Linked DNA regions of Homo sapiens: regions 2 and 3 are each linked to region 1. Evidence: promoter capture Hi-C in human tissues and cell types (Jung and others, 2019). All regions are on one chromosome and are shown on one strand. Each heading gives the region's core, a stretch centred on a gene start or on the middle of the fragment in contact. The rest is flanking DNA. Distances are from core to core; before and after follow the strand shown.

Region 1 (3,242 bases), core at 17-2,516:
AACACAGGCATGTTTTTCTGTGTGTCTGTGTGCCACAATCTGTACAAATCCTTAATTCCCTTTTAAGGAACAGATATATAATGAAAATCCGAAAGGAAACACATTAGAAATGCAAAGAGGTTTGCAAAACAAGAGGCTTCTTTCATTCCAGAAAACCACACCAAAACAAGGGGAGAAAAATGAATGCAATGGATATGTGTTTGCCAAAGTTTCAATCCTGCCCGGTGGAGACACTGCACTGGCACAAATTTTGAGGAGAAAAAAAGGGAGTTGGGGGGACGGGGAGCAAGCGAGTGCGGCCTGCAACAATGCAATCTCCATTTTGAACAATGTGCTTCTTTCCTCTTATAAATCTAGTTTTTTGCCACTTGATGTGCCCTCCCATTTCCCCTCTAAAGTTTAGGGGTCGGCGGGGTTGGCGGGAGATCGGAGCGGGATGCACAGCACATAAGTGAGCAAGGGGGGAGGGGAGAGGAGGTGGGGAATGAGTCTGCAGCAACTGCGCTGGGTGGGTACCTGGAGTGCTGCTGAAGCTGCTTTCCGTGGAGTAACTGGCGTCCTCGTCGTCATCTTCCAGCTCCTCCGGATAATCGGAGTCATCGTCGTCCTCCTCCATGTCATCCTCCTAGTTGTCCTCAGACTCCTGGGTCTCCTCGGCATCGCCGCCCCCCTCCTCTTACTCCTCCTCCTCGCTCTCGTAGTCATCATACACCACTCTGTTGACAGCCCTCCGGGCTGCGGTGGTCCGGGCTAGGTGGCTGCCCCCGCGCCCCCGCCGGGCCCGTGCGCTGGTGCCGGCGCGGGGCGGGCCGGCGGCGGTGGCTTCCTCCGGCTACTGCTGCCCACCCTGGGCGAGCTCAGCCGCGTCTTGGGCGCCACCTCAGCCTGGCGGCTGCCCACCTGCCCCGGCTACTACCGCGTATCGGCGAGGGGAGCCCCCGATGGGTCCGGACGTGGGCGGCGGCGGCGGCGGGGCCGGGGCGCAGCGCTCCGCAGCGGGAGCCGCGGGCTGCTTGGTCGGCCTGCCCCGCCGGCCCCTCTTGTTGGAGCCCAGGCGGCGGGAGAAGGGAAAGCTGACGGGGAGGGCCGGGCGCAGTGGCGGCGGTGGGGAGCGCCGGGGCCGGGTTGGGAGGCCCGAGGGGCTGGGCGGGAGGGGCCCGGCCGGCGGAAGCGAGTGGAGGGAGAAGGCTCAACCGAATTGCTGGGGCCCCACTCAAGATCGCCTTCAACCGCCACCTTGTTTCTTCCCTCTACAGGAGCGCGGTCACGTGAGGTGCGCCGCCGCCCAGCCTGGGAAGGGGGCGAGGTGGCGCGGCGGCCGCTAGGGGGAGCGCGGGAGCATTGAGTCGGGGGCGGAGAGCTCGGGGCGCCTGGACTTGGCGCAGCACGGCGCTCCGGGTGCGGGTGGCGCGGCTGAAAGAGGCCCGCAGCTCCTGACAAGCCCCGCGTCTAAGGCCTTCGGAGACCACAGTCTCCGCGGACCCCTGGCTGGAGCCCAAAGCCTGCCGGGTCTCCTTCCCGCGACTCCCCTTCCGCGGCTCGGAGAGGAAGGCAGGAGAGCCCCCAAATATCGTTCCCCTCCCGCCCTCTAGGGAAACTGAGGCTGAAAGAGGCAGCGAGAGAAAGAAAAAAAAAGTCGCGGAGGGGGGCGGCCCGAGCGACCTAAGGGACGGGGCAGCGCCAGCGACCGAGGAAAATTAGTCGGGGTGGGGTACAGGGAGACAAGCCCCCAGAATTTAGGAAACTCCGAAGCTTGGAAGTGGAGTCCTGAATTGACTCCGATGACAACTGCTCCGGATCTGTGCCAGGAGCCACACCCCGGGCTGCCACGCCTGGAGGGAGGGGGGTCCCTAAGACCTGTTGCATGGGATCCCCACTCGGAAAGCCTCAGTAAACTCCAGAATGCAACTACTGCATGTTCCAATCTCCCGCCACCTTCCCAGTGTCCCAGCTAGGAGCCTGACCACCTTAGCAAGAACTTACCTCTCCTTTGCAGTGGAAAAGAGGGAATCCTGCCTAAAACCTACTTCACGGTGTTACAGGTCTGTATTATCGGGAAATAACCTTAATTTATTTACCTGACAAATCACTAGGTTTGAGCTCAGCCCAGGGGACGAATCATGGTGACAGTTCAGGCACCCTCAAACCTTATCACAGGGACTCAACCCTGAGTGGTTGAGGTCAGTTCTTCAGATAAGAGAAAGGTTTGCCGGGCACAGTGGCTGACGCCTGTAATCCCAGCACTTTGGGAGGCCGAGGCGGGCGGATCACAAGGTCAGGAGTTCGAGACCATCCTGGCTAGCACAGTGAAACCCCATCTCTACTAAAAATACAAAAAAAATTAGCCGGGCGTAGGTGGTGCACGCCTGTAGTCCCAGCTACTCGGGAGGCTGAGGCAGGAGAATGGCGTAAAATCCGGGAGGCGGAGGTTGCAGTGAACCGAGATCGCGCCACTGCACTCCAGCCTGGGAGACAGAGCGAGACTCCGTCTCAAAAAAAAAAAAAAAAAAAAAAAAAAAAAAAGAAAAAGAAAGGTTTCGTAAACATATGTTAATATTTATTGAGATAAGTGACAACCAAAAAGTAATTTAAACAAAAATACTTGGCCGGGCGCGATAGCTCATGCCTGCAATCCCAGCCCTTTGAGAAGCCAAAGCCGGACGATTGCTTGAGGTCAAGAGTTTGAGACTAGCCTGGGCAACATAGCAGGACCTCGTCTCTAGAAAAAAATTGAAAAATTAGCCGGGCATGGTGGTGCGCACCTGTGGTCCCAGCTACGCCAGAGGGTGAGGGGGCAGGATCGCTTGAGCCTGGGAGGTGGATGTTGCACTGAGCCATGATTGCACCTCTGCACTCCAGCCTGAGTGACAGAGCAAGACCCTGTCTCAAAATTTTTAAAAAAGAAAGAAAAATACCTAATAGGAGATGGCTTATTTCAATCTAGTTAGGAAAATGGAACACATATGTGAAATGAAAATTAAAATACAAGCACTAATTGCCAAATACATGCATTCAATACAGTTTGGTTGAGCTCTAAGGGTGGCAAATGTGTGTTATGTCTTCAGGGACTAGGTAAGTAATGTAAGTCAATAAAGTAGACAAGGTGAAGACCTAGGCCAATGGAAATGCTCATATTTTGTTTGAAGAGGGTGGCCAGGTGTGGTGGCTCAGACCTGTAATCCCAGCACTTTAGGAAGCCAGGTGGGTGGATCACTTGAGCCCAGAAGTTCGAGGTTAGCCTG
Region 2 (2,911 bases), core at 44-2,543, 330 kb before region 1:
TACCATCCGAAGTGGAGCCAGAGCTGCGCAGTTTCATTGCTAAGCGTCTTTCAAGAGGTGCAGTCTTTGAAGGGCTGGGTAATGTTGCATCTGTGGAGCTAAAGTAAGTGCAAAATGTGCTGTGTCCTGAGTTTTTATTTCTGAACTAAATATGAGAAGTGATGAGAAACTCCAAAAGATCAGCTCCTACTAGACCTGCAGAATTTGTCTTTATTCTCTGGCAGCCCGAGCACTGGGCCTCACACATAAACATTTGTGGAATGGAATTAATTGAATGGCAGAGACCCTGGCACCCAATTGCACTTTATTTAATTAGTTTATTTTTTTTTGAGACAGGGTCTTGCTTTGTTGCCCAGGCTGGAGTGCAGCGGCCCGATTACAGCTCACTGCAGCCTTGACCTCCTGGGCTTAATCAATCCTCTCACCTCAGCCTCCCAAGTAGCTGGGACTGCAGGCAGGCACTACGATGCCCAGCAATTTTTTTAATTTTTTTTTTTTTTTTTTTTTAGAAATGGGGTCCTACCATGTTGCCCAGGCTAATAAGTTTTGTACTTAGAAGAAGAAAAGTGTTGATTATTAAAACTAAATTTGTATACAGTTTGTATTTTCACAAACTTTTATGTAGTTTTCCTTACAAAGGGGAAATATAGCAGATACTCTCTTATTTTCATTTTCAGATGAGGAAATAAACTCAGAGTTTATGTAAACTTAAGTCATGAGGCTGGTCAAATTGATGGAGTTCAGGCTTAAACATGAGCATTCTTAGTCCAATTCCAACTGTCTTTCCATTACACCTCTCCTTTTTTGTTTTGTTTTGTTTTTTTTAAGACAGAGTCTCACTCTGTTGCCCAGACTGGAGTACAGTAGCATGATCTTGGCTTACTGCAACCTCCGCCTCCCTGGTTCAAGCAATTCTCCTGCCTCAGCCTCCCGAATAGCTGGGATTACAGGCATGCACCACCATACCCGGCTAATTTTTGTATTTTTAGTAGAGATGGGGTTTCACCATGTTGGCCAGGCTGGTCTCGAACTCCTGACCTCAGGTGATTCACCCGCCTTGGCCTCCCAAAGTGCTGGGATTACAGGTGTGAGCCACTGTGCCCGGCCTCCATTACACCTCTTTATTCTAGTTCAACTCAGACCGTGAAGTTAGCATACAGGTCCTCAGGAGTTTGAGGCCACTTCCCAAGGATAAGGCCACCTTCAGGCACATCTGCCTTAAACATCAATTTGTGAAGCTTTGGGAGAGGGGAGAACATACTTTTTTTTAATATAAACATGGGTATGAACTAGAGTGAAATTTGTGTGAATTTTTCACATAAGACAGGAGAATTCAAAGAAATTTCATGTATGTTAGTGGCTGCTTTAACTAAAGCCCTCCAGGGTATACATTCATTTTTCTTTGCTGCTGCAAGTACACCAACGAGAAGTCTGGGAAGCTCTGAGTTAGTGGGCAGTTTAATGGTGTTGCCAGATCAAGATGACCAGAATTCAGAGCAGTCCACAAAATTATAGATGCATGAGTAACCAAAATAATGCATTTTACATTTTCTTTCTTTTCTAGAATTCCAGGTTACCGAGTTGGTTGTTATTACTGCCTTTTCCAAAATGAAAAACTGCTTCCTGAAACAGTAACGATAGACTCTGAACGTAACCCTTCAGAATATGTGGTCTGTTTTTTAGGAGGGTCTGAAAAAGGACTTGAGCTATATCCTTTCTTTGGTTTTTGAGAACATCAGGAAGGAAAACATGGGAAGGCAGGTGGAAGAATATTACTACCAACCTCCAAAAAGCTTTTCTACTCCTCGTGTATTTAGTTGAATTTCATACCTTCATGTGGCCATTTTGCCTTGGCTTGTTTGCATTTGCAGCTCACATTATTTGAGAGATTTTATATTTCTTGTTGAGAGATGAAATACTGTCTTCATTATTCATCCTTTATTGCTTCCTTAAGAACATACTTTCAGGCTTGAATTGGACAAGTACATTCAAGGGCTGAAAAATAACATGAATTGTGAGGTAAGGTGACTGACTTAATGGTTTTTAAAGACTGAAATGGGGCCAGGCTCAGTGGCTCACGCCTGTAATCCCAGCACTTTGGGAGGCCGAGGTGGGCAGATCACAAGGTCAGAGACCAGCCTGGTCAATATGATGAAACTTCATCTCTACTAAAACTTAGCCAGGCATGGTGGCAGGCACCTGTAGTCCCAGCTACTTGGGAGGCTGAGGCAGGAGAATCGCTTGAACCCGGGAGGCAGAGGTTTCAGTGAGCCGAGATTGCACCACTGCACTCCAGCCTGAGCGACAGAGTTAAAAAAATAAAATAATGACTGAAATGATTAATATACTGTGATTGCTCTACTTGTCAAATCATATAGGTAGACACAAAGACGCCTGTATTCTAGAAACTTGCCACCTTGTGAGCTAGTAGAGAGGTGAATTTTTTTTTTTTTTAGACAGGGTCTTGCTTTGTTGCCCAGGCTGCAGGGCAGTGGCGCGATCAGGCTCACTGCAGCCTCAGCTTCTTGGGGCTCAAGCAGTCTTCTCGCCTCAGCCTCCTAAACAGCTGGGACTACAGGCAAATACCAACACGCCTGGCTAACTTTTGGTATTTTTTGTCGAGATGGGGATCTCACTTTGTTGCCCAGGCTGGTCTAGGATTCCTGGCCTCAAGCAATCCTCCCTCCTCAGCCACCCAAAGTGCTGAGATTACAGACACGAGCCATTGTGCCCAGCCTACAGGTGGTTTCTTTTTCTTTTTCATTTTTTGAGATAGGGTCTCACTCTATCACCCAGGCTGGAGTGCAGTGGCACGATCATGGCTTACTGCAGCCTTTTCTGGGCTCCAGCGATCCTCCCACCTCAGCCTCCCAAGTAGCTGGTACCACAGGCATGCACCACCATGCCCAGC
Region 3 (3,030 bases), core at 308-2,807, 370 kb before region 1:
TGTGGATACTTTTCACATGTGCGTAAAACACTGTTCAGTGAGGCTGAAAATGAACCTCAAAATAATCACTCCAAAACCATAGTTTAACATACTTTACCACAGGATCAGGTATCAAATTTCAGTTTCGATACCTGAAAATTAGTAATCCATCCATGCTGAAAGGTCTGTAACACCCAAATTCTGTTGTTATATCAACTATATGGTCTATACCCCCACATACACAAGCACACACATAGACACCACCTTCCCACCTTTACAGGGCTCTACATTAACATTTGCTCTAATGTGGTGAGGCTTGAAAATATTTTAAAATTAAGCATTTCCAGATGACCTTTTAGCCTTAACATTCAATGCGTAAGTTTGTGATTAAGAATGCAGATTTTGGCCAAGCGCGGTGGCCCACGCCTGTAATCCCAGCACTTTGGGAGGCCGAGGCAGGGGGATCGCAAAGTCAGGAGATCGAGACCATCCTGGCTAACACGGTGAAACCCCGTCTCTACTAAAAATACAAAAAATTAGCCGGGTGTGGTGGCAAGCACCTGTAGTCCCAGCTACTCGGGAGGCTGAGACAGGAGAATCGCTTGAATCCAGGAGGTGGAGGTTGTAGTGAGCTGAGATCGTGCTACTGCACTCTGGCCTGGGTGACACAGCGAGACAGTCTCAAAAAAAAAAAAAAAAAAAAAAAAAGAATGCAGATTTTGGCCAGGCGCGGTGGCTCACACCTGCTACTCCAGCACTCTGGGAGGCTGAGATGGGTGGATCACCTGAGGTCAGGAGTTTGAGACCAGCCTGGCCAACACGGCAAAACCCCATCCCTACTGAAAAATATTGAAAAAATAGCCAGATGTGGTGGCGGGAGCCTATAATCCCAGCTACTCGGGAGGCTGAGGCAGGAGAATCACTTGAATCCGGGAGGCAGAGGTTGCAGTGAACCGAGATCGCACCACTGCACTCCATCCTGGGTGATAAGAGTGAAACTCCGTCTCAAAAAAGAGAAGGCACATTTCAGTATCCAGTGGCATTTCCAATGATTAAACTTATCCTTGAGGTTAAATTTAATAGTTTATGGAGAAAATAAAACCAGTAAGATTTTCCTAGAAGTGAAAGTAAAAAACTTGAATGAAACATTTCTTGCCTCCAATCAAAAATATCAAATTTTGTCAATTTATTGAAGTTCAATATAGGAACACAAGCTTTACTGAAGCTGTTAATTATGTAACACACAGCAAATTACATAAAATTGCATATGAAATACTTATGTTTATTAACACCACAGTCAAACGTGAATATTAATATAGAGCCTTCTCTGCCAAAAGAGTATAAAAATCCTAAGTTTAATTAAATTTAGGGGCCTTCACCAAACTTGCTGCAAGTTTGGGGACATAAATATCCAACAGCCATAAAGCTGTGAAAGCCCCTATAAGGAATAAAATAAATCCCACTTGCCTCAGACTGAACAGGGCAACACTGAGACTCAGCCTCAGCCTGTCCTATGGCAGGGCTATAGGAAGAAGAAAATTTTAATTTTAGAAAAACAGTTCCCAATTAATTTAAAAGACATGCATTAAAATTTTTTTTTTTAAAAATCCCAATGATCAAGCAAGCAAAAGGAGCAGCTTTGTTTTTAACTATTGTCCACTACAATTCCACTCTGAGCCCGTACTTCTTTTTGTTGGGGAATCCCCCTCCCCAATTAATTAAGTTTAATTAAGGTGAGTCTAAGTTCAAAATGTAACTTAGTGGAATAGGAGTACAGTAGGAATATTTTATTCATACCTAATGGCAAATGTGTGAGACACTACTAAAATACTAAGTATTCAAATCAAGTAATTCCAGCAGCCACTCAAAAATTAATCCTTACCTGCTGTGGTCTTGTTAAACAGTATGAAAACTTATACAACAGAAACTAGTGCCAGACAAAATGTTTTCTTGTTTTTCTAAAAGGGGTGGATGTAAGGTAGAGCCAAAGTTGCCAGCCCTACTAACCTTACAGCTTCCTTAATTATGACAATCACAATGCCTGCCTGAATTATCAAGTCCCAAAAGTTGTCTTCTGTGAGGGCAGTTGGCATCCACTTTGACTCAACTTCATCTACTACTTAAGGAAGGTTGAGTCAGAGTTAATTATATGAATATAATTTGCTCCACTCATAATTCAACCACACTATGGACCCCAGAAGCATTTAGAAAAAAGGTATTTTCTAGAAGCTTAATTACGTTTGGATGCATGCAAAAATTACACTTCAAATATATTAAATGGGTACACCACCTCTGAGCCTATAGCTACAAACTCAGGAACTCATGAGCTTAAGTTTTATCTGCCAATGCCTAACACTTTCAATTAATTTTTAATTAGAATTCTATCCCATATTTAAAAGTTCCATTTTTGCCCATCAGACCTATACAGAGAGCAAAAAACCTTGCTACAAAGTATCAACCTTCTTTGCATAAAATGCAAATAAAGCTTCACATAATTTCTGAAACAGGTCTACTAACCCTATTGCAGTTTGTCAATAACCGTATACATGAAATTCCTGAGAATTTGGGAGAGCACCCCTTACTTAATTATTCTAAATTTAATCACAGCATTTTTTTTTTTTGAGACGGAGTCTCAATCTGTCGTCCAGGCTAGAGTGCAGTGGTGTGATCTCCGCTCACTGCAAGCTATGCCTCCCGGGTTCACGCCATTCTCCTGCCTCGGTCTCCAGAGTAGTTGGGACTACAGGCATCCGCAACTACGCCCAGCTAATTTTTTGTATTTTTAGTAGAAACGGGGTTTCACCGTGTTAGCCAGGATGGTCTCCATCTCCTGACCTCATGATCCACCCGCCTGGGCCTCCCAAAGTGCTGGGATTACAGGCGTGAGCCACTGCGCCCGGCCTATCACACCATTTTTATCTTAAAGACTTTCAACACAAGTTTTCCTTCAGCAGTATATTAAGTGTGCTGCCAAATCAAAGCAGCATGTATTAATTTTGAAACCATTTAGGTAAGCAGAGGTTCAGAGGGGAAAGTGGTTTGGGACTTGGC

Evidence for each region. The method cuts DNA at HindIII sites, captures the fragments that hold promoters and counts their contacts. A contact is called where the count stands out against the background at its distance.
Region 2: a contact is called between a fragment that was not itself captured here and the fragment with the promoter of LRRC37B in region 1, in 2 of the 25 tissues and cell types used here (bladder and dorsolateral prefrontal cortex).
Region 3: a contact is called between a fragment that was not itself captured here and the fragment with the promoter of LRRC37B in region 1, in 3 of the 25 tissues and cell types used here (hippocampus, spleen and thymus).

What each region holds. Positions count from the first base shown.
Region 1 is chr17:32,005,407-32,008,648 of GRCh38, reverse strand. It overlaps LRRC37B (leucine rich repeat containing 37B), which reads right to left and starts at 1,266. Exons shown (of 15, transcript NM_001321350.2): 1 at 517-1,266. LOC124903972 reads left to right here and starts at 942. Exons shown (of 4, transcript XM_047437248.1): 1 at 942-1,273; 2 at 1,944-2,042. The coding sequence starts at 942. RefSeq lists silencers at 861-1,210, 1,251-1,300 and an enhancer at 1,343-2,265. The HindIII fragment of the contact is 11,687 bases long and covers 1-3,242 here.
Region 2 is chr17:32,337,005-32,339,915 of GRCh38, reverse strand. It overlaps C17orf75 (chromosome 17 open reading frame 75), which reads left to right. Exons shown (of 10, transcript NM_022344.4): 3 at 1-103; 4 at 1,565-1,708; 5 at 1,962-2,019. Among named protein-coding and RNA genes, the nearest start is that of C17orf75, 3.7 kb to the left of the region's middle. The HindIII fragment of the contact is 3,781 bases long and covers 1-2,911 here.
Region 3 is chr17:32,371,870-32,374,899 of GRCh38, reverse strand. ZNF207 (zinc finger protein 207) reads right to left here. Exons shown (of 12, transcript NM_001098507.2): 12 at 1-3,030. Among named protein-coding and RNA genes, the nearest start is that of ZNF207, 23 kb to the right of the region's middle. The HindIII fragment of the contact is 3,452 bases long and covers 1-3,030 here.